7 separate regions of the Homo sapiens genome follow, and all the other regions are linked to region 1. The links are contacts of gene promoters, found by promoter capture Hi-C in human tissues and cell types (Jung and others, 2019). All regions are on one chromosome and are shown on one strand. The core of a region is centred on a gene start or on the middle of the fragment in contact, and the rest is flanking DNA. Distances in the headings are between cores, read along the strand shown. Region 1 holds the start of APBA3 (amyloid beta precursor protein binding family A member 3). Region 2 holds the start of NCLN (nicalin). Region 3 holds the start of DPP9 (dipeptidyl peptidase 9). Region 4 holds the start of SGTA (small glutamine rich tetratricopeptide repeat co-chaperone alpha). Region 5 overlaps GNA15 (G protein subunit alpha 15). Region 6 holds the start of ZNF555 (zinc finger protein 555). Region 7 holds the start of STAP2 (signal transducing adaptor family member 2).

Evidence for each region. Contacts are between HindIII fragments. The study calls those that stand out against the background at their distance.
Region 2: a contact is called between the fragment with the promoter of NCLN here and the fragment with the promoter of APBA3 in region 1, in 1 of the 25 tissues and cell types used here (pancreas).
Region 3: the fragment with the promoter of DPP9 here is called in contact with the fragment with the promoter of APBA3 in region 1 in 2 of the 25 tissues and cell types used here (hippocampus and pancreas).
Region 4: a contact is called between the fragment with the promoter of SGTA here and the fragment with the promoter of APBA3 in region 1, in 1 of the 25 tissues and cell types used here (small bowel).
Region 5: a fragment that was not itself captured here is called in contact with the fragment with the promoter of APBA3 in region 1 in 2 of the 25 tissues and cell types used here (aorta and stomach).
Region 6: a contact is called between the fragment with the promoter of ZNF555 here and the fragment with the promoter of APBA3 in region 1, in 1 of the 25 tissues and cell types used here (pancreas).
Region 7: a contact is called between the fragment with the promoter of STAP2 here and the fragment with the promoter of APBA3 in region 1, in 2 of the 25 tissues and cell types used here (aorta and hippocampus).

What each region holds. Positions count from the first base shown.
Region 1 is chr19:3,760,320-3,764,075 of GRCh38, reverse strand. APBA3 (amyloid beta precursor protein binding family A member 3) reads left to right here and starts at 2,384. Exons shown (of 11, transcript NM_004886.4): 1 at 2,384-2,540. It overlaps MRPL54 (mitochondrial ribosomal protein L54), which reads right to left and starts at 1,394. Exons shown (of 3, transcript NM_172251.3): 1 at 1,258-1,394. The coding sequence starts at 1,375. LOC105372248 (a long non-coding RNA gene) reads left to right here and starts at 1,436. Exons shown (of 3, transcript XR_936268.1): 1 at 1,436-1,518; 2 at 1,870-1,927; 3 at 2,222-2,322. RefSeq lists an enhancer at 1,031-1,520 and a silencer at 2,182-2,499. The HindIII fragment of the contact is 13,428 bases long and covers 1-3,756 here.
Region 2 is chr19:3,184,139-3,188,073 of GRCh38, reverse strand. It overlaps NCLN (nicalin), which reads right to left and starts at 2,144. Exons shown (of 15, transcript NM_020170.4): 1 at 1,860-2,144. The coding sequence starts at 2,043. RefSeq lists a silencer at 1,658-2,227 and enhancers at 2,738-2,877, 2,184-3,066. The HindIII fragment of the contact is 11,170 bases long and covers 1-3,697 here.
Region 3 is chr19:4,722,494-4,726,127 of GRCh38, reverse strand. DPP9 (dipeptidyl peptidase 9) reads left to right here and starts at 2,286. Exons shown (of 22, transcript NM_139159.5): 1 at 2,286-2,454; 2 at 3,577-3,629. It overlaps TRG-TCC1-1 (tRNA-Gly (anticodon TCC) 1-1), which reads right to left and starts at 2,058; the gene lies at 1,987-2,058. It overlaps TRV-CAC3-1 (tRNA-Val (anticodon CAC) 3-1), which reads left to right and starts at 1,421; the gene lies at 1,421-1,493. LOC105372250 (a long non-coding RNA gene) reads right to left here and starts at 3,248. Exons shown (of 3, transcript XR_936274.2): 1 at 3,142-3,248; 2 at 1,419-1,508; 3 at 541-993. RefSeq lists silencers at 1,366-1,565, 2,016-2,105, 2,336-2,485. The HindIII fragment of the contact is 28,361 bases long and covers 1-3,634 here.
Region 4 is chr19:2,781,180-2,784,896 of GRCh38, reverse strand. It overlaps SGTA (small glutamine rich tetratricopeptide repeat co-chaperone alpha), which reads left to right and starts at 1,624. Exons shown (of 12, transcript NM_003021.4): 1 at 1,624-1,664. RefSeq lists enhancers at 1,193-1,262, 2,759-2,858 and a silencer at 1,653-1,702. The HindIII fragment of the contact is 32,124 bases long and covers 1-3,717 here.
Region 5 is chr19:3,160,688-3,164,074 of GRCh38, reverse strand. GNA15 (G protein subunit alpha 15) reads right to left here. Exons shown (of 7, transcript NM_002068.4): 7 at 326-1,282. The coding sequence ends at 1,056. Among named protein-coding and RNA genes, the nearest start is that of GNA15-DT, 7.2 kb to the right of the region's middle. RefSeq lists enhancers at 1-664, 665-1,526, 1,330-1,624. The HindIII fragment of the contact is 7,338 bases long and covers 1-3,387 here.
Region 6 is chr19:2,839,799-2,843,209 of GRCh38, reverse strand. ZNF555 (zinc finger protein 555) reads right to left here and starts at 1,735. Exons shown (of 4, transcript NM_152791.5): 1 at 1,635-1,735. The coding sequence starts at 1,637. RefSeq lists silencers at 1,355-1,404, 1,445-1,744, 1,965-2,154, 2,165-2,274. The HindIII fragment of the contact is 15,507 bases long and covers 1-3,411 here.
Region 7 is chr19:4,337,073-4,340,578 of GRCh38, reverse strand. STAP2 (signal transducing adaptor family member 2) reads left to right here and starts at 1,752. Exons shown (of 13, transcript NM_001013841.2): 1 at 1,752-1,927. The coding sequence starts at 1,826. The HindIII fragment of the contact is 19,957 bases long and covers 1-3,506 here.

The DNA of each region.
Region 1 (3,756 bases), core at 1,135-3,634:
AAAAGCCCAGGCTGGAGGGCAGGGGCACAATCATGGCTCACTGCAGCCTCAAACTCCCAGGCTCAAGTGATCCTTCTGCCTCAGCCTCCCAAGTAGCTGAGATCACAGTTGTGAGCCACCATGCCCCGCTTATTTTTATTTTTATTTATTTATTTATTTATTTTGAGACAGAGTCTCACTGTGTCGCCCAGGCTGGAGTGCAGTGGCGTGATCTCGGCTCACTGCAACCTCCGCCTCCTGGGTTCAAGCAGTTCTCCTGCCTCAGCCTCCTGAGTAGCTGGGATTACAGACATGTGCCACCATGCCCCACTAATTTTTGTATTTTTAGTAGAGCTAGGGTTTCACCATGTTGGTCAGGCTGATCTTGAATTCCTGACCTTGTGATCCACCTGCATCAGCCTCCCAAAGTGCTGGGATTACAGGCGTGAGCTACCGCGCCAGGCAATTTTTTTTTTTTTTTATACAAACAGGGTCCTGCTATGTTGCCCAGGCTGGTCTCGAACTCCTGGGTTCAAGCAATCGATCCTCCCTCCTTGGCTTCCCAAAGTGCCGGGAATAAAGGTGTGAGCCATCATGCCTGGCCTCGAAATCACTTTAAGTGGGATTTGGACACAGCATTAAGTAACTTTAAGTGGGATTTGGACATAGCATTAAGTAACACCGATGCTTGGAATGACCAAGTCATTCAAGTTATATTTTGTCTGCTATGTGTCTGTCTTTAAGGCCGAACATTGGACAATTTCCCCCTTTCAACAAAGGAGATCAGGCAAGGCTGTATCCAGCTAAACCTTAATAACCTTGTTTTGTTCTTGCTGAAGTGGCCAATTAAACGGGCTCCATAATTTCTTTGAATGTTTGGTAACGTCTTGGCCAAGGTTACCCAGCGATTTGGAGGCAGGCAGAGAAACAGAACTGGAACCCAAGTTCATGACCTCCCCAGACTCCCTTCAAATCCTTTCCAACCCGCGCCTGCGCAGTGAAACGCGTGGTCTCCACGTAACCACATCCTCCTCCCAGGCCGCTCCGCCCCAAGCTGGCGCCTGCGCCCTGGGTCCAATCGCTACAGTATCTCCGAGCCAGACGCCCGAGCTCCAAGCGGCGCTGGGTCCCTCAAACTGCGCCTGCGCATACAGCCTGGCATCCGCCTCTCTGCGCTTGCGCATCAGTTCTAGCACCACCTCCCCAACCACCGCCTGCGCACTGTCAATTCCTCAGTGCACCCACCGTCCCCATTTGGTTCCTCTTAACCCAGCTCACCTGGTTTCTTGGCATAATCCCGGGCCAGGAGTCTTCCGGAAGTGGCGGGGTTTAGGAGCTCCCAGGCCCCCCAGCCGGCCCACGTCCGGGTAGCCCCGAAAAGGCGTTTGGTCGCCATGACGTATTGCGGGCAGCTTGCAAGTGCACGTTTCCGGAAGACGTCAGTGGCCCAAGGGTGTTTGGGAGTTGTAGGCCCCGTGGAAGTGTAGGCCCCGTGGAGGTGTCTGGGAAATGCGGTCTCCCAAGCTTTCATAATCTATGGTGATTTCTTCAGACTTTTGTAGACATACACAGTTACTATAGGAGGAGGCGTTCAAGGGATATTTCATTGACTTCTTGCCCTTCTTCAATTACATAACATTTACTAAAAATATCACACTTTATATGTTCCTGATTCCATCCAATGAGTAATTATTCAAAGCTTTAAAGTTAAAAAAAGAAGATTAACAATGAGTCTAATATACTCCAGTAGGGCTGGAGTCTAATCACTGTTAATTTTTATAACATTATATTTTTAAAATTATATATAACATATATAATACATATAATATATAGTATGTTTTATATATAATATATAAATTAATAATATATATTTTATATATTCTTTTCCAGCTCTACTACTGCTAAATCCTTAACCCGCTTGATCTAATTTAATCCTCACAATTGAGAGGTAGGTACTATTTTTTCCCCAGCTTATAATGAGGAAACTGAGTTCTCAGGGAGGTAAAGTTCCCAGGCCGACCCCAAATCCATGGTGCACCTATGTGTCTCCCTACTGTGAGCCAAACCGAAAGTCCGTCTTTAACAGGGTCTCCACGACGCTTCCGGTGCCTCAAGGTCCCAAGGAAACCACCTCTCACACTTCTTTAATATTTCCCAACCCCACTTCTCCCCATCTGCCATCCTTTGGAATAATGAACACAGCCCCCAGAGCCAGGCAGTGATTATTAACCCTATTTTGCAGGAGAACAAACAGGTCCTGGGGCCAGCCGGGGCAGTCTGCGGGCCGGGAAGCCTGGGATTCGAACTCCCCTCCAACATCTGCAGTTGTCCCAGCGCCCCCGCGTGGCGAGGCTGGGTGGGAGAACTACATTTCCCAGCAGGCCTCGCGAGGCCGCGCATGCTCAATGGGCCAGGGCTCTGCGCGGATAGAGGAGCGGGCGCCGGGACCGGGAATCCCCGAGCTGCGCCTTCTGGGGACGCGGCCCGGGCTACGTCGGGGCCGTCCGTGGGGAGCGGGGTCCTGGAGGCTGCGCGGGGCTGAGGCGGCCTCGATTTGGGAAGTGAGTGTCCTCGAGGTGCAGAGCGCAGTCTGAGTCGGCGCTTGAGGTCTTCGGTCTGAGGGGGGACTAGGGTCTGGGCTTGGGGCTGGGTCCTGAAGTCGGGGTCTGAGTCTGGAGTCGATCTTGGGGTAGCATTGGAGGTTTGGAGACTGGGGTCCGCCTTATGGCGTCTTGGGTCTCTGGTATTAAGTCCAGGGTCCTGGGTCTAAAGTTCTGGATGGAGGTATTGGGGGTTGAGGTCATGGGACTGGGGTCTTGGGTCTGGGGTCTTGGGGAACTGCCTCTGACCAGTCGGTAGAGTCAGGGTGTGAGGTCTGGGTCTCCAGCCTGGGTTCCGCGTCTTGAGGGAGGAGGACCTGGAAGAACCAGGGCTGGAGTGAACAGACTCCATTAGTTGAGAGAGGTCTGGGATGACACAGGGGCTCGGGAAGCCACTGCCTCACACCTCCCCATTCTGTGGCTCAGTTTCTTCATCTGTAAAATGGGAATCCTAACTTCCTTGCAAGGGTTAGTGGGTATTAAATTATGTGCCCTGTATGAACAGTACCCAGCTAGAGCCTAGCACCGGATAGGCAGCCGGGAAACCTCAAGTTTTTTGTTTTTCGGGTTTGTTTGTTTTTTTTAAGACAGGGCCTCACTCTGTCACCCAGGCTGGAGTGCAGTGGCACAATCAAGGCTCACTGCAGCCTCTGCCTCCCCTGGTTCAGGTGATCCTCCCACCTCAGCCTCCCAAGTAGCTGGGACTACAGCCTACACCACCACCCCTAGCTAGTTTTTTTTTTTTTTTTTGGAGATAGTCTCGTCTGTCGCCCACCTTGGAGTGCAATGGCGCGATCTCAGCTCACTGCAACCTCCGCCTCCCGGGTTCAGGCGATTCTCCTGCCTCAGCCTCTTGCGTAGCTGGGATTACAGGTGCCTGCCACCACACCTGGCTAATTTTTTGTATTTTTAGTAGAGACGGAATTTCACCATGTTAGTCAGGCTGGTCTCAAACTCCTGACCCCATGATCTGCCCGCCTCGGCCTCACAAAGTGCTGGGAATTACAGGCGTGAGCCACTGTGCCCGGCCTTAATTTTTTGTATTTTTTGTAGAGAGAGGGTCTTGCTCTGTTGCCCAGGCTGATCTTGAACTCCTGGGTTCAGTCAGCCCTTCTGGGCCTCCCAAAATTCTGGGATTACAGGCATGAGCCACTGCACCCGGGCGAAACCTCAGTGC
Region 2 (3,935 bases), core at 895-3,394, 580 kb after region 1:
CCGCTATGAGAGCCGCAGGCACGCGTGGCTACTTGCGTTTATTACCCTCAAGCAGCGCTGAAAATCCTGCCCCCCGGTTGCACAGGCCACGCTTTGGGGGCTCGGCAGCCTCCTGTGGCTGCTGGCTCCTGTGCCAGGCAGCAAAGATGGAGGCGATTCTACAGGATGGTGCCCGTCAGGACCCTTCCCCCGGGAAAATCCCAAGCAGCACGGAAAACGCGGTCACTGCATGAGGAGCCTCTGGCCTTCCACTCCCACCCTCCAGAGCCTGGGCCTTGGGTTTATACACCACCACTGTGGCCCCAGGGCGCTTCCCCTGGACACTGTGGACATTAGGGCCGGATCGTTCTCTGGGGTGGGGCCGTCCTGGGCACTACAGGGAATTGAGCAGCGTCCCTGGCCTCCACCCACTCCATGCCAGGAGCACCCGTGGTCGTGACAACCACAGATGTCCCCAGACATCACCCAGCGTCCCCTCGGTTGACAACAATGGCTCTAAGTAAAAAAATCGTAACTCTGGGGCAAAATGGGACCTGAGGCCAAAGTCTGGTTCCATCTCCAGAGATGGGCTCCCCAAGGGCTGGCAGAAGCTGGGGGTCCCCGCGCCTCAGGTTGAGCCTGAGATGTGACGAGAGGGACCAATCCAAGAGAATCCGGGCTGGGAACTAAGGGGGCCAGGAGAACAAGCGGACGGGACTCCTTCACAGGGAAGGCCAGGCCTTGACTTCCAGGGACCTGAGGGGCCAGGCTGAAAAGAAGAAAAACCAGGGACCAGGTTCTGGAATGTCAGGGACAGCTATAGCCAGGCAAAGACAAGGGGATGTGGAATGGTCTAGACACTGGGGTCAGGGCCACGACGGGAGGGGGCGAGGCTGTTGAGTGGGAGACTTGCAGAATGCAAGGGCAAGGGGGTGCGAATTTGGAAAGGGAAGAGGAAATCCTGGAAAGATGGAACAAGTGGGGTTCTGGGAAGTGGGTGTGAGGAGGCTGAGCTGAGGGCGTGGGTATGCATCAAAGGCGGGACAGAAAGGGGGTCAAAGGGAACCCCAGGCGAGTGGACTGAACTGGGGACGTGGGAGGAGACCAGGGAAGCTGGGCTAGCAGATTCTGAAACATGACTCACGAACTGGGACCAGAGAGCGTCAGGGGTCTGGGGACAAATGTGCCCTTGACGTGGGGGCCGGTGACTAGAGCGAGAAAATTCAGGGGAGTTGAATTTGGGCACTGGACAAAATGCACTTGGCACCCAGGGCCGTGGGAGGGGGTGGGGAATGCTGGACCACCGCGTCGGGTGGCTCAGCCTGGCAGAAATCAGTGCAGGGACCTTTAACTCCAAACGCAGTCAGCTAAAGGCGAGAGGCCTGGGAACACGGACGTGACCCAGTGAATCCAGAGACCAACCAGATGGTCTCCAGAACAGGACCCTGGGAGCTGGAGGTCAGGACGGGAGCGTCTGCTCAAGTGAGCCCGGACCAGGAAGCCTAAGGGGCGGAGGGGGCCCAGGAGGGAGAAACTCGGCAAGGCAGGCAGACGCCGGCCCAGCTGGGGACAGGAGAGAGGGGACTTAGGGCTCCAGGGACGCGGGACGCTTGGCCCGGCCATGGGTTCCGGGGCAGGGAGACCTAGGCAGGGGCCGGGGGCTGTGGGAGCGAGCGCGGGGGGTCCCTGGGCGCTAGGCAAGGAGAGCAGGGATTCCAGGGCGCCCGGGGGTCCAGGGCGGCAGGGCTCTGCCTCGCCTGGGGCCTGAGCATGGGTCGGGCAGCCCAGGCCGGAGCTAGGGATCGGCCTGGGGATCGCCGGGCCGGAGTGGCGTGGCCGGGGAGCCCGGGGAGCCCCGAGGGTGGGCCGGGGACACGCACCGTAGGGCTGGCCCTGCAGGTCGTACTGCTGCATGCGGTACACGGTGAACTCGTGCGCGGCGTCGGCGGCAGGCAGCGGCGGCGCCACCAGCAGCAGCACAGCGGGCAGGAAGACGATGAAGCCGAGCGGCAGACAAGACGCCTTCAGCATGTTCTCCAGCACCTCGCCCGCTTCCTCCAGCATCCTGGCCGGCGGCGGGGCCGCGCGGGGCGGCAGCTGGGACGGGACGGCGGCGGCGGCGGCTCCCGCGGACTCACCTCGGCATGGGTAGCCGCCGGGGTCCTGCGGGCGCCGCGCGGGGCAGCCCGCACTCGCCCTGAGGTCCTGTGGGCACCGCGGCGAACCGCCCCGCCAGCCGCGCTGCCTGTCGGGAATTGTAGTCCGTCCGTCCGGCGCTCGCGGAGCCCTGTGGGAGTTGTAGGCCCACTCTGGAACTCCCGGAAGGTGCGGCAGGCTGTTCGGCTAATACCGTTGAGGTTTCACATAAACTCCAAGTCATAAAATGCAATAAAATGCTTTAAAAAACTATTTCGCGATATCACTTTCTTAACCTTGTCTTTGGCGTTGGGGGAGCTAGGGTGAGGGGCGAAAGGTGGGGACAGGACGTGACCTTGCGACCTGGAAGGAAGTTGGGGATAAAGAGAAAAGGAAGTGCCTGCCTGGCGCGCTAGGTCTTCTGGGAGTTGTAGTCCCGTCAAACACACAAAGGGTCACGGGAACTGTAGTCGTCCTGGCAGAAATTGCTGAGAAAAACAAAAATCACTTAAAACTCCCGAGGATGTAGATGTCAAACTCCACGAAGGCAAAAACTTTTGTCTGTTTTGTGCATATGATGTATCCCCGGCATCTAGCACAAGACCTGGCGCACGGCGGGTGGCCTATACCATTTTTGAATGAATGAATGAAAAATAGAAAGTCATGATAGTCAGTTCCTAAGGGAGGCCGCAGTGGGTTGTGGGACTTGTAGTCTGGAACCTGCGGTTTGTGCAGGGGTCGGTGGCAGGTATTTATATTTATCTTTATTCATATTTGGGGCATACTTATACTAAAAAAGTATTTGTTGTTCATCAGAAATTTAAAGTTAAAACCCAGTGTCTCAGGGCTGGAGGTACCTAAGGAACGTCCCTTTGTACAGATGGGGAGACTGAGCCCCAGGGTGCAGCAGACAGTAGCCCTGGCTCTCAGCACGTTATCATCCCAGGCTCCGTACAGCTGCCTAAGGAGTCAGGGCTTCCTTTCTGTCCCAAGTGAGAAGTGGCATTGGTGCCGATTAAGAGCCTGGGCTCAAATCCCAACTCCTCCATTTCCCAGCTGTGTGGCTTTGGGCAAGTCGCTTCACCTCTCAGAGTCTCAGTTTCCTCAGATATAATGATAAAGAATCAAGCACTCTCCCTGCCAGCAGCATGTGAGAATTCTGTTTGTTTGTTTGTTTGTTTGTTTGTTTTTGAGATGTAGTCTCTGTCACCTAGGCTGGAGTGCAGTGGCTTGATCTCAGCTCACCGCAACCTCCACCTCCTGGGTTCAAGCAATTCCTGTGTCTCAGCCTCCTGAGTAGCTGTAAATTACAGGCGTGAGCTACCGCGCCCGGCTAGAAAGGGAGTTTCTGAGTGTGCTGCTGGGTCACTGAGCACCTACTGTGTGCCAGCCGTGTGGTGGGTGCTGGGGACACAGCCGGGACCCCAGCAAAGCCACACTATCCACCGACACGGAGCTCGAAGTCCAAAGGAGGAGGTGGATTGTGTGACCAGGGGTGATGGGAGCTGGGATAGAGGACACAAAGGCAGCTGGGAGAAGCCCAGAGGAGGCCTAGGGAGGAGAGGAAATCAGAGGAGGCTTCCTGGAGGAGGTGACACTTAAGCTGAAACTCAAAAGATGAGCCAGAGCAGATGAGTGAAGAAAGAGGGAAAGTTGTGCCCAGTATAAAGCAGAGCTGTCATGCAGGGAACACAGGCAGCTGTGGGAGCCTAGAGGAGACCTAGGGAGGAGGAGAAATCAAAGAAGACTTCCTGGAGGAGGTGACGCTAAAACTAAGGTACAAAGAATGAGCAGGCAGAAGTCAAGTGACGAAGGAGGGA
Region 3 (3,634 bases), core at 1,037-3,536, 960 kb before region 1:
CTTGAACCTGGGAGGTGGAGGTTGCAGTAAGTCAAGATTGTGCCACTGTACTCCAGCGACAACAGAGAGAGAAAAAAAGATGTATTGAAATATTATTTATCTTGATTATTGAGTTTTTTGGCACCACCTTAATTTTTGCACCTGGTGCCAGTGCCTTACAATGCTTTAGTCTCCTCACCCTAATCCCAGCCCCGCAGGAGTGAGGGTGTGCAGAATTTTACAGCAGTCTGATTCTAAATTCTTGCCATCATCTTCCCACCTCTTCTACTGTCTCTTTAAGAAAATAAAGAGGCCTGGCGTGGTGGCACATGCCTGTAATCCCAGCACTCTGGGAGACTCAGGCGGGCGGATCTCTTGAGGTCAGGAGTTCGAGACCAGCCATGACCAATATGGCGAAACTCCATCTTTAGTAAAAATACAAAATATAGTCAGGCGTGGTGGCGGGTGCCTGTAATCCCCGCTACTTGGGAGGCTGAGGCAGGAGAATCGCTTGAATCCGGGAGGCGGAGGTTGTAGTGAGCTGAGATTGCGCTACTACATTCTAGCCTGGGCAACAGGAGCAAAACTCCATCGGAAGGTAAACACATACACACACAGTTTTTCTTTTCAGAAAGCTCTTTTACAGTGTAGTTGGGGTCGGGCGCGGTGGCTCATGCCTGTAATCCCAGTACTTTGGGAGGCTGCAGGCGGGCGAATCACGTTGAGGTCAGGAGCTGGAAAGCAGCCTGGGCAACATAGTGCAGGCCCTCTAGTCTCTACAAAAAATACAAAAGTTAGCTGGGAGTGGTTGCACACGCCTGTAGTCCCAGCTATAAGGCACCGTCTCTACAAACGCATTTTTTAAAATTCAGCCAGGCGTGGTGGTCCACACCTGTGGTCCAAGCTACCCAGGAGGCTGAGGTGGGAGGATCGCTTGAGCCCAGGAGGTGGAGGCTGCAGGGAGGGATGATCGTACCACTGCACTCGAGCCTAGGCGACAGAACGAGACTCTCTCTAAAAAATACAAAAAACAAAACACACAAAAAAGTAGTTTGATCTAAAGCAAAATGGTGAATATCTGCAGAAACTAATGTGATATCAAGTATAGATTGATATCTATGAGATGAAAAGCTTCATTTGACCCCGGATGGGTTTGTGGGCCGTTTGACGTGCATTGTTTTAATGGAAGGTGGATTTATGATAAAGTGATAAACATGTGTGTGGGTGGGTGGGTGTGTTGGAAAGGGTGTTTATTGGATTTCTTTTTGTCTTCCTTATTTTCCTTCTTTCGGTCTCTACTGTATCAAATACAATAACAGATATTCAGGAAGAGCGGATATTGCTTTAGCTGACTGTAGCCAGTGTTTCTTTGGTGGGACAACGCAACTATCACTGCAACATTATCTCTATAGGAGAATTTAAAGAACCCTGACGCCTACCGGTTTCCGTAGTGTAGCGGTTATCACATTCGCCTCACACGCGAAAGGTCCCCGGTTCGATCCCGGGCGGAAACAGGTCAGCTGTTTTTCCTAACCGGAGAGTAATACTATTTGAAATTCACCGAAAGAACGATTCTAGTCCCATTCTTTCTCTTCCGCCTTCCTCCTGCCTTTTAGACATTTTTATGGGATTTAAAAAAATTTTCCGTGATTGATGGCTCACGCCTGTAATCCCAGCACTTTGAAAGGCCGAAGAGGGCGGATCACCTGAAGTCAGAGTTCGAGACCAGCCTGGCCAAAATGGTGAACCGCCCCCCCCCCCCCACCCCGCCCCACCCCGCCCCACCCCACCCCATCTCTACTAAAAATACAAAAATTAGATGGGCGTGGTGGCGTGCGCTTGTAATCACAGCTACTTGGGAGGCTGAGGCAGGAGAATCGTTTGAACCTGGGAGGTGGTGGTTGCAGTGAGCGGAGATCACGCCACTGCACTCCAGCCTGGGGGACCGAGCGAGACTCCGTCTCAAAACTAAAATGAAAATTTCAAACTCGCAAAAGTGGTACCGCATGCGTTGGCCGGGAATCGAACCCGGGTCAACTGCTTGGAAGGCAGCTATGCTAACCACTATACCACCAACGCCCTGATAGGTAGCATCCTCTCCGGATATCCTTAATAGTGGGGGATCATGGGTTTGACTGAGTGATACCAAGTCACAGGGGGGTGTCTCTCCCTAACCCACCGGAAGATGTCGTTCATGGGGCGTTACGCACCTTAGGCCGCCGCGCCGCGGGCTCCCCCCCAAGCGCCGCGGACGCCTTGGTACGTGCCTGGTGGTGTCCAATCCCAGGCCGCCGCCTGGGTCGCTCAACTTCCGGGTCAAAGGTGCCTGAGCCGGCGGGTCCCCTGTGTCCGCCGCGGCTGTCGTCCCCCGCTCCCGCCACTTCCGGGGTCGCAGTCCCGGGCATGGAGCCGCGACCGTGAGGCGCCGCTGGACCCGGGACGACCTGCCCAGTCCGGCCGCCGCCCCACGTCCCGGTGAGCAGCGCCCGCGCGCCTCGTCCCGCCCCGGCCGCGACCCTGAACCCGCCATTGACCGGCCCCGCCTCGGCCCTGACCCTGCCCTCGCCATCGCCTGGCCTCCCCGCACCCCGGAGCCTCCATGCACCCGTCTGTGGGTCCCTCCGGCCCCCTGCCTCGTTTCCTCTCCGCCCCAGGCCCTCCTCCACCTTCTTTCCCTCCCCGATTCCTGCGCTGGCCAGGCCACCTCCCAGTTTCTCCCCTTCCCTGATGGGCTTCCCCACCCATCCCGTTGCTGCCCAGGCCACCAGGCTCTGACCCCTTCCGGAGGTGGCCGCACCCAAGAACGTCCTCGTAGCTGCAGACCTTGACACCCTCTCCCCTTTCGTGCAGGCTCTGGAGGTCCCGATCTCCTCCCTCTCCCCATGCAAATGCTGTATATGCACAGAGGCCACCTCCCTCGACCTGCATCCTGTCCTCACTCCTTTACCACTTCCTCCAACCTTCGCCCCGAGGCTTGGTCTCCCCAATCCAGTCCTGATCCTCAACCCTACTTGATCCCTCTATTAAGGGTATCCAGAGACTCTTTTTCCTGCCGAGGCGTTGGTGGTGTAGTGGTTAGCATAGCTGTCTTCCAAGGGTCCAGCCCACAGGGTTCAGCCCCCTTCTCTCAGCCTCCCTTCTCAGGCCTGTCCAACCGCCTACCTTCTTCCCACACAGCCTTAGGCCAGCCCTGACACTTCCCTGTTCACGCTGCCTCTGAGCCATCAAAAGTGGTCTATTCCCTTGGCCCCCACCCCCTGGTCTTCCCCAGGGGCCCCAGGAGGAAGTCACTTGCCTCCCAGGCAAGAACCAACCTGCTTTCGAGGAGCTGGGACTAAAGCCCAGGGGGTGTGGACCGTAGGCACCAATCCCTGCATTCCTCTGCTGGGTCCCAGGGGAATCGGGGCCCGTGGGATGGCTTCTCTCCCAGATTCTGTCCAGGGCATGCAGACAGTGCTGCAGGGCTTCAAGGCAGAGCTAGAATCTAGCCAGGTAGAATCGGGCCTGACAGTCTGCAGCTCCTGAGTGGGGGAGGCTGAACGGCTGGCCGGTGCTTCCATTAACCTGCCACATTCATGACATGTTTATCCTATAAAGGTCTGTGTCCCACGCCTGCAGCTGGAATGGAGGCTCTCTGGACCCTTTAGAAGGTCAG
Region 4 (3,717 bases), core at 375-2,874, 980 kb after region 1:
GAGGGGGTTTCACCATGTTGGCCAGGATGGTCTTGATCTCTTGACCTCGTGATCCGCCCGCCTCGGCCTCCCAAAGTGCTGGGATTACAGGTGTGAGCCACCGCGCCGGGCCAAGTTTTTTTTTTTTTTTTTTTTTTTGTCAGAAACAAAAGCAAGTAAACGGATTCATGTCAAATAACAGGTGTTGTGGAACAGTGCAGTAGCCTGACCTACATGCAGTGTTGTGGGTTAAAACAAAAAACATCTTGAACCATCTGTCTTGAACTGTTAGGGCACCCAGAAAAAACAATGTACTACAATTAAACTGGCAAAAACCAAAACAACCGACCTCCTTTCTTCCCTTTTTTTGTTTTTGTTTTGTTTTCTTTTGCTTTGGAGGGGCTGGAGGGAGTCTCGCTCAGTCGCCCAGGCTGGAGTGCAATGGCGCGATCTCGGCTCGCTGCAACCTCTGCCTCTCGGGTTCAAGCGATTCTCCTGTCTCAGCGTCCCGAGTAGCTGGGACTACAAATGCCCGCACCACGCCCGGCTAATTTTTGCATTTTTAGTAGATACAGGGTTTCACCGTGTTGGCCAGGCTGGTCTCGAACTCCTGACATCAAGTGATCTGCCCCCTGGCCTCCCAAAGTGCTGGGATTACAGGCGTGAGCCACCACGGCCGGCCTCACCTCCTTTATTTCTGCAAAAGAAATTAAAATAATCCACGCCATTAATCGTGCATGTATTTTGAGTAGGACGAAAATGAATTGGGAGAACATTTCTGGCAACTGTAACTTAGATGGTGATCAGTTTTCTGTCGTCCTTGGAAATGTCTCATCACATGTCTTGAGCAACACCAAGATTAATTTTACATCGGCGTTCATTTTCGCTGTTCCCTGTGCCTGGGGTCCGTTTGGACTTTCCTATCCTTGAAATCCAAATGTAAAGGATGATCTTTCCTACCCATCCCATGCGACTTAGCTCCCAGTGACAATCACACTACCTTCATTTTTTTTTTCTTAGTGTTTGCTGTGAAATTTGTTTCTCTATTTATGTACTAGTTTATTAGTTTATAGTCCGTCTACCCCAATGCAAAATAATGAGAGTAGACACTTTGCTGGTTTTTATGGCTGCTTTGCAATAAATATTGAATGAATATTAGGCACCTGCTGTCTACAAATGGCTCTATACTCACAAACGTCTCACACTGCATGAAAGAATGCATTTGTGGGTGAGTAGATGGGTGGGTGAATAAATGAACAAAGATAGTAAGCGGGTAACACTGACTCCCATTCATTGCGCAGCTGTGACGCTCTGGAGTCCAGGTGTCCAAACGCGGCTGCACCACGTGGCCGGCCCAGCACCACGTGGTCAGCTCGGCGACCGGCTGGAGTCAGCCACTGTTCCACCGTGCACCGCTTCATTCCCGCTCTAGAGGGCAAACCAGACCCGATTTCCGGCCTCCATTAGGTCGCAGAGGTCAGTTGCCCTAACAACCAGCTGGTTCCCGCCTCTACGTTGCGTCACTTCCTTCCACGCCCGCCTCCATCATTAACGCGCCTGTGCAGAAGGGAAGCAACTCCGGGCGCCTTTCTTTTGCGCAGGCGTCGCGCCCTGGGGCCGGGGCCGGGCGGCACCGCGGTGCGCAAGCGCAACCGTCGGTGGGTCGGGGATCGGTCGCCTGAGAGGTGAGTGAGGGGCACTGCGCTGAGCCTGGTGGGTCTGGGGTCTGCGGCTCGGGGCCCACGGGGCCCCAAAGCTCGTAAGAGTTTGGGGATCGTGAGGCCAGGGTCACCGCGACCCGCGGGGTCCTGTGAGTAGGCGGTGCGGAGGGGAAACTGAGGCCGGGCGCCATCGGGCAGGCCCTTCGAGCCCTGATCTCCCTTCCCCAGGCCCCAGGTCCTGGAAATGCTGGTCCGCGGCCTGGTGGCGAGGACGGCGGGAGGGGAAGGCGCCCCGCATGTAGTGAGCGCTCGCTGGGTGTTCGCTGCCGTTCCGCTCTTATTAACCGCCTGGAAACGTCGTCCCTGTGACTCAGGGACCCCCGTTTGTGGGGACTGAAGTCGGAACTCTGGTTCCAGCGCCGCCAGTCCCTACCTGGGTGACCTTGCCCAGCCTCTTGGCTTCTCGGAGCCTCAGTTTTCCCCTCTGTAAAACGGGCGTTGTTCAAAAGTCCCTGCCTAGGAGAAGGAGAGCCGCAGGGTCCAGCGGAATCTGAGAACTCCAAAGAATTAGCAGGCGTTCGTCTTATATCATGTTTAGAGTCTTCTTCTGCATATCGTGCTAGAGGTGGGGGAAATCTGGGATTCAGGACCGTCCACCACCACCTCCCACCCGCTGTGTAAACCTGGGTGAGTCGCCTTCCCTCTCTGAGCAAACTGTTCCTTCTTTCGCAAACGAGTTGTAAAAGCAGATGCCTCGGAGGGTCATTATGAGGATAAACCCACATTCAATTATTTGATCAGGTGCCTGGAACTTGATAAGAGAGAGCTGGCTTGAGAATAGCTGTTTTTGTTATTAGGTGCCAGAAAATTGCAGTGTAGTGTGCCCTTCAGAGGTTGAATGATTGTCCCATTTTCTTTTGTTTCTGTCTCTGATTATTCCTTTTGTCTGCCTTTTCCCTCCCTTGACCAGTGGTTCTCAACCAGGAACAATTCTGTGCCCCAGGGATTCTTGGTGACATTTGTGCTTGTCATGATTTGGGGGACCCCCTGGTTTGGAGTTGGTGGAGGCCAGGGTTGCTGCTCGGCACCCTGCAGTACCCAGGACGGCCTCACCCCAGAAAATGATCCAGCTTTAAATGTCAATAATGCTTTAAAAACCCTACCATACGGGCTGATGACCTGAGGTCAGGAGTTCAAGACCAGCCTAGCCAACGTGGTGAAACCCCGTCTCTACTGAAAATATGAAAATTAGCTGGGCATGGTGGTGTGCACCTGTAATCCCAGCTACTCAGGAGGCTGAGGCAGGAGAATCCCTTGAACCCAGGAGGCAGAGGTTGCAGTGACCCAACATCATGCCACTGCACTCCAGCCTGGGCGACAGAGCGAGACCCTGTCAAAAATAAAAAAAAAAAATCTACCCTAGATCAGTGATTCTTCACCAGCATGGGCAGCTGGGACTGTGTGGGCCCGGGAAATCGTGTACAAAGTTTTGTGTGTGCACCCAATTTCGTGCAGAGAGAAATGGGTACTTTGGAGTTTAGCTTCTCAAGTCAGACTGCCTGGGTTCAGAACTCCTCATTTTCATCCTCGGAGCTGGGTGGTCTCGGGTGGTCCCCATCTTTCCAAGCCTCAGTTTTTCTTCTGTGGAATGGGGATTATAATAGTAACCACCTCAGGTGTGTGAGGATTAAACCAGGCAAGGTATCAGCAAACTGACCAGAAGGCCAAATCCACCTCTGGCCTGTTTTTGTGAATGAAGGTTTGTAGGAACACAGCCACACTCCTTGGTTTATGCGTTACCTGTAGTTGATTTCGAGCTAAGAAGGCACAGTTGAACAGTTGCCATAGGGAACTTAACGCCTGCAGAGCTGAAGACAATCTGGCCCTTTTCAGAAAAACCTTTGCTGACCCCTAAAATAAGCTATCGCATGTACAGCACTTAACTGGGTGCCTGGAAAGCTGTAAGCACGCCAAGGATTTGAGCTGAGGTTTATAATTAAATCTTCCTAGAAGGGTGAATGATTCCAAATGCGGGTGAGCTCTGCCCCAGATTGGAGGATCCTTGAGAGCTGTCGTC
Region 5 (3,387 bases), core at 297-2,796, 600 kb after region 1:
TTGCACCCCAGAACACTGCCCTGAGGATAGTAAGAGGCCTTCTCAAAGCTGGGTGGGGGCTGCTACTGGAATTTCAGGTCAGTAGCCACGGAGGAGTCTGCTTCAATGTCCCCCCCAGCCTGGGAGGGAGGTTGGACTCCACGTCCCGGCTTGCGGGACTCACAGCCTCCACAGTTCTGGGTACCATGGCCAGGACAGGTGGGTAGACAAGAAGTATAACTTTTTTCCTTCCTACTCCACGTTGCTCCCCGCACTGTAAGCACTGCCCCCGGGACACGTAAGCCGAGAAAGGAATGCAGAGGGGATAAACAGGACGCTGGCGACGCAGCCTCTAAGAAATCTTTAATTTCAGCCCGCACGGAGCCCTGCAGAAGGTGAGGGAATAAATACAAAAGGTTAAGATGCAGCATGCCCAGCCCCCAGCCTGCAAGGGATGGGGGGATGCTTGTGGGCCGCGATTTCTCTCGTCCGCAAACCGGGGCAGGACACGCTGTGAGCCACCGAGCTCTGAAAGTGACAGTGTTTTCCAGCGGTCTGTTACCCCTTGCAAAGGGAAGTCCCTGCACCCCTAGTCCACAGGTTCCTGGAAGGCGTTCCTTCTCCTGTCCACTAGAGTGCGCCAGAGTCCACGCCCGAAGGCGCCTGAAGGCTCTACTAGCCCCATCCCAGGGTGTGCGTCACCCACAGAGGGTCCCAGAACCCTGCCCAGGAGGTGACACGCCCGGAGATGGGGCTCCTGAGAGATGCCCACCCACCCAAGTCCTCAATCCCCTGATTTCTTCACCTTTTCATCCACCCTGGCATCCCAAATGGCCGTTTTGCTCCTTCCCTTTCAAAGGAGGGAAACTGAGTCAAGCAAGGGCAGGAGTACCCTGGGGGGCGGCTGTCCTGGTGAGAGGCAGAGAAGAGAGCGGCCAGCAGCGGGCCGTCCGTCCCCCGACTCCCTTGCGTGTGGGCCGAGGCTGGAGAGATAGACCAGGGACACTAGGGGTCCCTGCAGCCACTCCCACCTCCCACCCGCCCGCCGGTGCCGCCTGCCCCAGGTGGGGCCTGGGTCACAGCAGGTTGATCTCGTCCAGGTAGCGGGCGAGCACCGAGTCCCGCACGTCCTTGAAGACCTTGCGGATGTTCTGTGTGTCTGTGGCACATGTGTAGTGGCTGAAGAGGCGTCGGGATCGTGCGCCCTTCTTGCTGCCCTCGGGGCCGTCCACGCACCCGGTGTACATCCTCGTGTACATGTCCAGGATGAACCTCTTGGCTGCCTCAGCATCCTGCTTAGGGCCTGGGGAAACAGTGTGGGAAGGGGGTGAGGACCCTCCCTCTTTGGACCCAGGGGGCCTCTGGAGACCCTCTTCCCTGTAACCAGCACTGAAGGGACCCAGGGATCGCGCCTGTCATTTTTCTGTGCGTTGACTCCATCTTTTGTAGTCATAGCTGGTCACACGACTCCGGCCCAGCCAATGGGAACACAGGAGATTGTCTCACACGAGTCATGTGACCTGAAATGGACCAATGAGACCCAGCTCTGGGACTTCGGGCAGAACTGTGTTAAAGAGAGACACTCTCTTGGCCTCGCTTACAGCCAGTGCAGTTGGAAGACTGGAATCGCATAGACAAATATCCCAGGACTGTGAAGATGGCGGCATCAAGGCCAAACGAGGGGAAGAGAGTCCTCTTTTTTTTTTTCTTGAGATGGGGCCTCGCTCTGTCGCCCAGGCTGGAGTGCAATGGTGCAATCTTGGCAGTAGCTGGGATTACAGGCGCCTGCCACCATGCCCAGGTAATTTTTGTATTTTTAGTAGAGATGGGGTTTTGCCATGTTGGCCAGGCTGGTCTCGAACTCCTGACCTCAAATGATCAGCCCGCCTTGACCCCCCCAAAGCGCTGGGATTACAGGCGTGAGCCACTGTGCCCAGCCCTGCATAGGGTTTTAACATGAAGATTAAAGAAGCTTTGTAGAGTGCTTCCACCAGTGCGGTAGATGTGTTAGCTGCTGTTATCAATTTTATTATTATTATCATTATTATTATTATTATTATTTTGAGACAGAGTCTCACTCTGTCACCCAGGTTGGAGTGAAGTGGCATGATCTCAGCTCACTGCAACCTCCACCTCCTGGGTTCAAGCGATTCTCCTGCCTCAGCCTCCCGAGTAACTGGGATGACAGGCCCCCGCCACCACACCCAGCTAATTTTTGTATTTTTAACAGAGATGGGGCTTTGCCATGTTGGCCAGGCTGGTCTCAAACTCCTGACCTAAAGCGATCTGCGCGCCTCAGCCTCCCAAAGTGTGGTTTCTTATTATTATCACAAATATTATTTAGCACAGTGGAGGGTAGGGCTGGGAGTCAGCAAAGAGTGCACCAGTCACTTGTGCTGGGAGACAAGGATGAGTCATGGGTGGTTCCCTTTGACCTGAATGAAAAAAATATCTACCTTATCCTGTTCCCAAATTCTCTAAACTATGAGCTGATTCCCAGGGCTGCTTGGCAAGGAAGAGGGGCTATCCAGGCCACCATCCTGGAACAACTTGACGTCTATCTCCCAGACCCTGAATCTTGTGGGTATAATTGGCTAAAATTGGCCTCATGGGCTCTGAGACATGACAAGACCAGGGATCAAAACCTGGTGACTTCACCAAAGTTTATGTTTACTGATTGTGGACCTGGTGTCAAGCATGTACTAAGGACTCATCTACTATGGTTGCTTGTATATTGAGGTGAACAGTGTCCCCCAAAATTCATGTCCACCTGGAACTTCAGAATATGACTTTTAGAAATCGGATATTTGCAGATGTAATTAGTTAAGTTAAATTAGGTCATGGCCAGGCATGAGGGCTCACGCCTGTAATCCTAGCACTTTGGAAGGCCAAGGCAGGTGGATGACAGATGTGTGGTTGGGCCCAGGAGTTCCAGATCAGCCTGGGCAACATGGCGAAACCCTGTCTCTACAGAAATATACAAAAATTACCCAGGTGTGGTGGTGTGCGCCTGTAGTCCCAGCAACTCAAGAGGCTGAGGTGGGAGGATCACCTGTGCCCAGGAGGTTGAGGCTGCAGTGAACTGTGATCACACCACTGGACTCTAGCCTGGGCAACAGAGCAAGACCTTGTCTCAAAAAAAAAAAAAAAAAAAAAAAGTGGTCATACCAAAGTATGGGCCCTAAATCCAATGACTGGTGGCCTTATAACAACAGGAGAGGACACATAAAGGCATGGTGAGAAGACAGCCATGTGAACATGGAGGCAGAGATTGCAGTGATATGTCTACAAGCTAAGGATTGTAGGCCACCACCAGAAGCTGAGAGAGAAGCATGGAATGGATTTTCCCTTAGAGCCTCCAAAAGGAACCAACCTTGCCAATACCTTAACTTTGGACTTCTGTTGTTT
Region 6 (3,411 bases), core at 486-2,985, 920 kb after region 1:
CATGGGCAACAGAGCTCCCAAAAAAATAATAGTAATAAAAGAAAACAGAAAATAACAGATCTGAGAAACGACACACACTCCAGGGAATGTTTAACAAATGGAATGTAAGACACAGATTTTAATTTTTTTCCTGAAATTCACCCCGTTGGAAGTTTTTTTTTTTTTTTGAGACGGAGTCTCGCTCTGTCACCCAGGCTGGAGTGCAATGGCGCGTTCTCAGCTCACCGCAACCTCCGCCTTCTGCGTTCAAGTGATTTTCCCGCCTCAGCCTCCCGAGTAGCTGGGACTACAGGCACCCGCCACCACGCCCAGCTAATTTTTGTATTTCTAGCAGAGACGGGGTTTCTCCATGTTGGCCAGGCTGGTCCCCAACTCCTGACCTCAAGTAATCTGCTCCCCTCGGCCTGTCACAGTGCTGGGATGACAGGCTTGAGCCACCGCGCCCGGCCTGGAAATATTTTATCTTCCAACTTCTACTAATTAAATGTACGTTTCACTTCCTAAAAACTGCTGACTCGAAAAAAGGAAAATCTTTTCACAGTGACAAACCCAGGGAGGGGTCAAGTCTGGCCAGGCTACCACGACGGACGCCCTCCCACCCCCAACTCAGGTGTTGCCTCAGCAAGGAATCCCATTGCTAGTACTCAAAACAGAACTGAGAAACGTCTTCAAATCCACACTTTCTAGGGAACCGTGAAAGAATATATTTCCGTGGTTTTAGCCCCCTCGTTTGCAGTCAGTTGCTACAGCAGTCCGAGGACACTAATGCACCAGCCTCCCGGGCGTCCCCGCTGTGGGTCTGCGTGCGTTTGCTTTTGGGGTCCTCGCTCTCCCTTGTTTCTCTAGTCTTTTCAGTTACTTTTCTTCCTTGTGTGTGAGAGCCCAGGGACCAGGAACCCTTGTTTTTTTTCCCCTTACCTACCCCAGGCATCTTGGGGTCAGAGGGGACAAGAAGTCCTCAAGAAGGAAAACCGGGACTCAGGGGAGGAAACCTCGCACGCCCCAGGGGCTGCCTTTGCAGGTGGGGGCGTCTCCGCCCCCGCCGAGGCCCCACCGCTCCCGGGCTGTCCCGGGAGGAACCCAGGGTCCCCCAGAGACCGCGGCCGGAGGCGCGGGGCCTCCAAGGAGCTGAGCCGCGGGAGCGCGAGCGGAGGCGGCACCGACCAGGGACCCGCACCCCAGGAGGCACCGCGGCGTCGGCCCCAGGGCGGGTCCCGGGGGAGCCTGGACCGCACCTCGGGGTCTCGGGCGACTCTGCCTCCCGCGGCCCGGGGGTCCCGAAGCCGCAGCGAAACGCTCCGAGGCGTCGCGGCCCCGGGCGGGGCGTGGGGGGTCGGGAGCGCAGGGACGCGGGGACCCCGGGACGACGGGGACGGAGTCGGGCTCCGGGCGCCGCTCCCCGCTCTGCAGCCTTGGGGCCAGAGGCGGGCGGGGACCCGGAGCTCGGAGCGCCCTAGCCGCGACCTCAGCGCGGGAGGCGGGGCCGGGCGGGACCCCCGGGGCCCAGGCTCCCGTCCTGCGCCGCCCTCGCCGGGGCCGCCCCCCGCGTCCCTCAGCTCCCCCCAAGCCGCGGTCTCGGGCGGTCGCCGGTTCCTGCTGCCCCGCACCGGGATCCTCTCCTGCGCCACACTCACCATGTCCCGGGGCGATTTCTTCGCTACCGGCGCAGGTGAGCGCGACAGGAACCGGGACGCCAGGGACCGCTAGGGGCAGGCGGGGCACTCACGGCTAGGACAGAGGCGTCCCGTCCCAGGGGCCTGATTAGACAGAGCTCGGGAAGCCGCGCTTCTGATTGGACAGTGCTGCCAACGTCGGCGACTCTGATTGGAGAATTCCCCAGTCCGTCCCCTGGCGCTGTAAATTGGGCAGTTCCCCGGATTCCGATTGGGCGTCCCTCATTGGATACTTGTCTCGGCCCCGCCCCCGCCCGTCCTGACTGGGTAGTTCCCTAGGGCCCACCCCCTGCCGGTGAGTGACGGGAGCGTTGCGAACACGCGTGGCTGTCCCGCCCTGCGGGGACACTGGCTTCTGGGCGAACTGGTTTCAGCCCGGGGCGGAATCGCCCTCTCCCCGCAGTTCGGGCGCCCCGCCCGCGTCCTCCTCCGGGACGGGCGTGGGAACTCCAGACTAGTTTCCTCACGAGGCGACCCCTTGTCCGGACAGGAGGTGGATGCAAGCGGGCGGCCCGGGCCTGGCAGGGCGAACGGGGGCTGGGCGCCGGGTCCGAAGGGCCGAGACCTACGTGGGGGCGGGACCCGCAGACGTGACGTCATCGCGCTGCGGGCGACATGGAGACCCCGCCCAGGGGGCTGCGAATCCGGAGACCCGGTCTGGGGGAGGCCGAACCCAAAGCCTGGCAGGGGGCAGGAGCTTTGCTCAAATCAACCAGAAGATATGAGATGTTCATTAAAACCCTCACATTTGGCTGGGCGCAGTGGCTCACGCCTGTAATCCCAGCACTTTGGGAGACCGAGGTGGACGGATCATCTGAGTTCAGGAGTTTGAGACCATCGTGGCCAATATGGTGAAACCCTTTCTCTACTAAAAATACAGAAATCAGCCCGGCGTGGTGCCGGGCGCCTGTAATCTCAGCTACTGGGGATGCTGGGGCAGGAGAATTGCTTGAACCCGAGAGGTGGAGGTTGTAGTGACCCGAGATCGCCCCACTGCAGTCTAGCCTGGGCGACAGAGTGAGACTCCATATTAAAAAACAAAAAAACTCTCAAGTTCATATTTTAAACTCTAAGGAAAATGTTTTCAGATCATTTTTTTAAGTACATCCCCCCAAAATTTGGAAGATTGAAAAGCTGGCCGGGCGCTGTGGCTCACGCCTGTAATCCCAGCACTTTGGGAGGCCGAGGCGGGCGGATCACCTGAGGTCAGGAGTTCAAGACCAGCCTGCCCAACATGGCAAAACCCTGTCTCTACTAAAAATACAAAATTAGCCGGGCGTGGTGGCGCGCACCTGTAATCCCAGCTAGGGAGGCTGAGGCAAGAGAATCGCTTGAGGCCGGGCACGGTGGCTCACGCCTGTAATCCCAGCACTTTGGGAGGCCGAGGCGGGCGGATCACGAGGTCAGGAGATCGAGACCATCCTGGCTAACACGGTGAAACCCCGTCTCTACTAAAAAATACAAAAAAATTAGCCAGGCCTGGTGGCGGGTGCCTGTAGTCCCAGCTACTCGGGAGGCTGAGGCGGGAGAATGGCGTGAACCCGGGAGGCAGAGGTTGCAGTGAGCCGAGATCGCGCCACTGCACTCCACCACTCCAGCCTGGGTGACAAAGCGAGACTCCGTCTCAAAAACAAACAAACAAACAAACAACAACAACAAAAACAAAAAGAATCGCTTGAACCCAGGGAGGCAGAGGTTGCAGTGAGTCAAGATCATTCCACTGCACTCCAGCCTGGGG
Region 7 (3,506 bases), core at 503-3,002, 580 kb before region 1:
ATTCAGTATTCAAAATTAATCAATTGTCCACCATATTAAACAGGCTGTGGTAGGCAGAATAATGGTCTCTTAAAGATATCCACGCCCTAATTCCCAGAATCTGTGAATACGTTAGGATACGTGGCAAAGGGATTTGAAGATTAAAGATAGACGCCAGGCACAGTGGCACACACCTGTAACCCCAGCACTTTGGGAGGCCTAGACTGGAGGATCACTTGCACCCAGGAGTTCAAGACTAGCCTGAGGGCCGGGCACGGTGGCTTATGCCTGTAATCCCAGCACTTTGGGAGGTCGAGGCAGGTGGATCACAAGGTCAGGAGATTAAGACCATCCTGGCTAACACAGTGAAACTCCATCTCTACTAAAATAAAAATACAAACAAATTAGCTGGGCATGGTGGCACGTGCCTATAATCCCAGCTACTCGGGAGGCTGAGGCAGGAGAATTGCTTGAACCTGGGAGGCAGAGGTTGCAGTAAGCCGAGATCGCTCCACTGCACTCCAGCCTGGGTGACAGAGTAAGACTCTGTCTCAAAAAAAAAAAAAAAAAAAGACCAGCCTGGGCAACATAGCAAGAACCTGTCTCTAGTAAGTGTAAAAATTAGCTGGGCGTGGTGGCAGGCACCTGTAATCCCAGCTACTTGGGAGGCTGAGCCAGGCGAATGGCATGAACCTGGGAGGCGGAGCTTGCAGTGAGCCGAGATCACGCCACTGCACTCCAGCCTGGGCTACAGAGCGAGAGTCTGTCTCAAAAAAAAGAAAAAAAAAAATTAGCCAGGTGTGGTGGCATGCAACTGTAGTACCACCTACTCTGGAGGCTGAGGCTGGAGGATCACTTGAGCCTGTAAGGTCGAGGCTACAGTGAGTCATGATCGCCCCACTGTACTCCAGCCTAGGCAACATAGTGAGAACTCATCCTTAAAAAAGGAAAATAAATTAGCTGGGTGTGGTGGTGCCCACCTATAGTCCCAGCTCTTCGGGTGGCTGAGGCAGGAGGACCGCTTGAGATTGGGAGGTCAGGGCTGCAGTGAACTATGATCGTGCCACTGCACTCCAGCATCGACAACAGAATGAGACACCGTCTAAAAAAGAAAAATTGCAGATGAAATTAAAGTTGCTAGTCAGCTGACTTTAAAATAGGGAGAGTAGCGTGGATTATCCAGGTGGGCCCAATGTAATCATTAGGGTCCATCAAAGTAAGAGAAAGGGCCAGGTGTGGTGGCTCATGCCTGTAATCTCAGCACTTTGGGAGGCTGAGGCGGGCAGAAAACTTGGGGTCAGGAGTTCGAGACCAGCCTGGGCCAACATGGGGAAACCTCGTCTCTACTACAAATACAAAAATTAGCCAGGCGTGGTGGCGGTCACCTGCAATCCACGCTAGTCAGGAGACTGAGCTTGGACTCAGTCTCTGAACCCGGGAGGCAGCGCAGTCTCTTGAACCCGGGAGGCAGAGGTCGCAGTGAGCCAAGATCATACCACTTTACTCCAGCCTGGGCAACAGAGTGAAACTCTGTCTCAAAATAGGAAAAATAGATAAATAAATAAATAAAGAGACAGACCATGTCTCTGTCTTTGCAGATATAGCGAAGATTATTCTCCCATTCAAGTAGACTTATACATTCTCTCTGTTCTCAGTTCCACACCGGAGAGGCGGGGATTTCCCTAGGATCACTGGACCTGCTGGGATCAGCCTCTGCCCAGCCCTGGCAGGGGAGGGAGTTGACGGGCTGACACAGGAAACTCCCCTGAAACCTGTTTCTCAGCTTCCCGGCCCAGCTGGGGCACCCACTGGAAGGAGAGGCCAGGCGGAAGACCCTGGCTCCGTCATGGCCTCTGCCCTGAGGCCACCCCGTGTCCCCAAGCCTAAGGGTGTCCTGCCTTCACACTACTATGAGAGCTTTCTAGAGAAGAAGGGGCCCTGTGACCGGGTAAGGTGGGGAGGCGGGGGCTGGCCCTGCTGGGCCACCGTGGGGAGCTGCGGCACCTCTCTGAGTCCCTGTCTCCCCACTCGCCAAGGGGGGGCGGGGTGGGTGCTGGATGGGGCAGGACACGTGCTGGGGGACTGGGGTGGGTTCTGGCCATCTGCCTCTCTGTGCGTCTATCTCTGTCTCCGTGTGTCTTTGAATTTGGTTTCTTTTTCTCTTTCTCTCTCCCTGGCCCCGTCTGTCTCTCCCGATGTCTGTCTCAGTCTCCCTCTCTCTTTGTCTCAATCTTTGCTTTTGTCTCTCGTTCACTCTCTTGAATACAAACAAGATCAGGGACTTCCTCCAGGAAATGGGGAGTCCTCTGACTCCCGAGCTTCCTCCCGCTCCCAGCCCAGGAAAAACTCCGTGAACCTCAGCTGCTGGGGCGAAGGCCAGGACAGGTGACATGTGAGGACAGTAAGAGCTAGCGGGGGCCACATTCCACAGGACAGATAGTTGCCATGGACAGTGCGTGCATGTGTGTGTGTGTGTGTGCTTATGTCTCCCTCAGAATAAAGTCCCAGCCCCTCCGTTCCCCGTGAGGCCCTATCTCTCCTTCCCAATGCCGCATATTCATTTTCTTTCTTTCTTTTTGTTAGAGACAGAGTTGCTCTGTCACCCAGGCTAGAGTGCAGGGGCACGATCATGGCTCACTGTAGCCTCAAACTCCTGGGCTCAAGTGAACCTCCCGCCCCAGCCTCCTGAGTAGCTGGGACCACAGGCATGCACTGCCTCTTCTGGCTTTTATTTTATTTATTTATTTTTGAGACTGAGTCTCACTCTGTCACCCAGGCTGCAGTGCAGTGGCACCATCTCGGCTCACTGCAACCTCCACCTCCCAGGTTCAAACGATTAAGCGATTCTCGTGCCTCAGCCTCCCGAGTAGCTGGGATTACAGGTACGCACCACCACACCTAATTTTTGTATTTTTAGTAAAGACAGTGTTTCATTTTGTTGGCCCGGCTGGTCTTGAACTCTTGACCTCAGGTGATCCACCTGTCTCGGCCTCTCTAAATGCTGGGATTACAGGCATGAGCCACCGCACCCAGCCTTTTTTTTTTTTTTTTGAAGATGGGGTCTTGCTGGCCAGGCGCAGTGGGTCACACCTGTAATCCCAGCACTTAGGGAGGCTGAGGCAGGTGGATCACCTGAAGTCAGGAGTTTGAGACCAGCCTGGCCAATATGGTGAAACCCCGTCTCTACTAAAAATACAAAGATTAGCCGGGCGTGGTGGTGCGTGCCTGTGATCCCAGCTACTCTGGAGGCTGAGGCAGGAGAATCACTTGAACCTGGGAGGCAGAGGTTGCAGTGAGCCAAGATCGTGCCACTGCACTCCAGCCTGGGCAACAGAGCAAGACTCCGTCTCAAAAAAAAAAAAAAGATGGGGTCTTGCTATGTTGCCCAGGCTGGTCTCAAACTCCTGGCCTTAAGTGATCCTCCTGTCTCAGCCTCCCAAACTGCTGGGATTAGAGGTGTGAGCCACCATGACTGCCTCATTTTCTAATACAGATCAAAACAAACACCCCCAGCTCCTCCCTGCCCA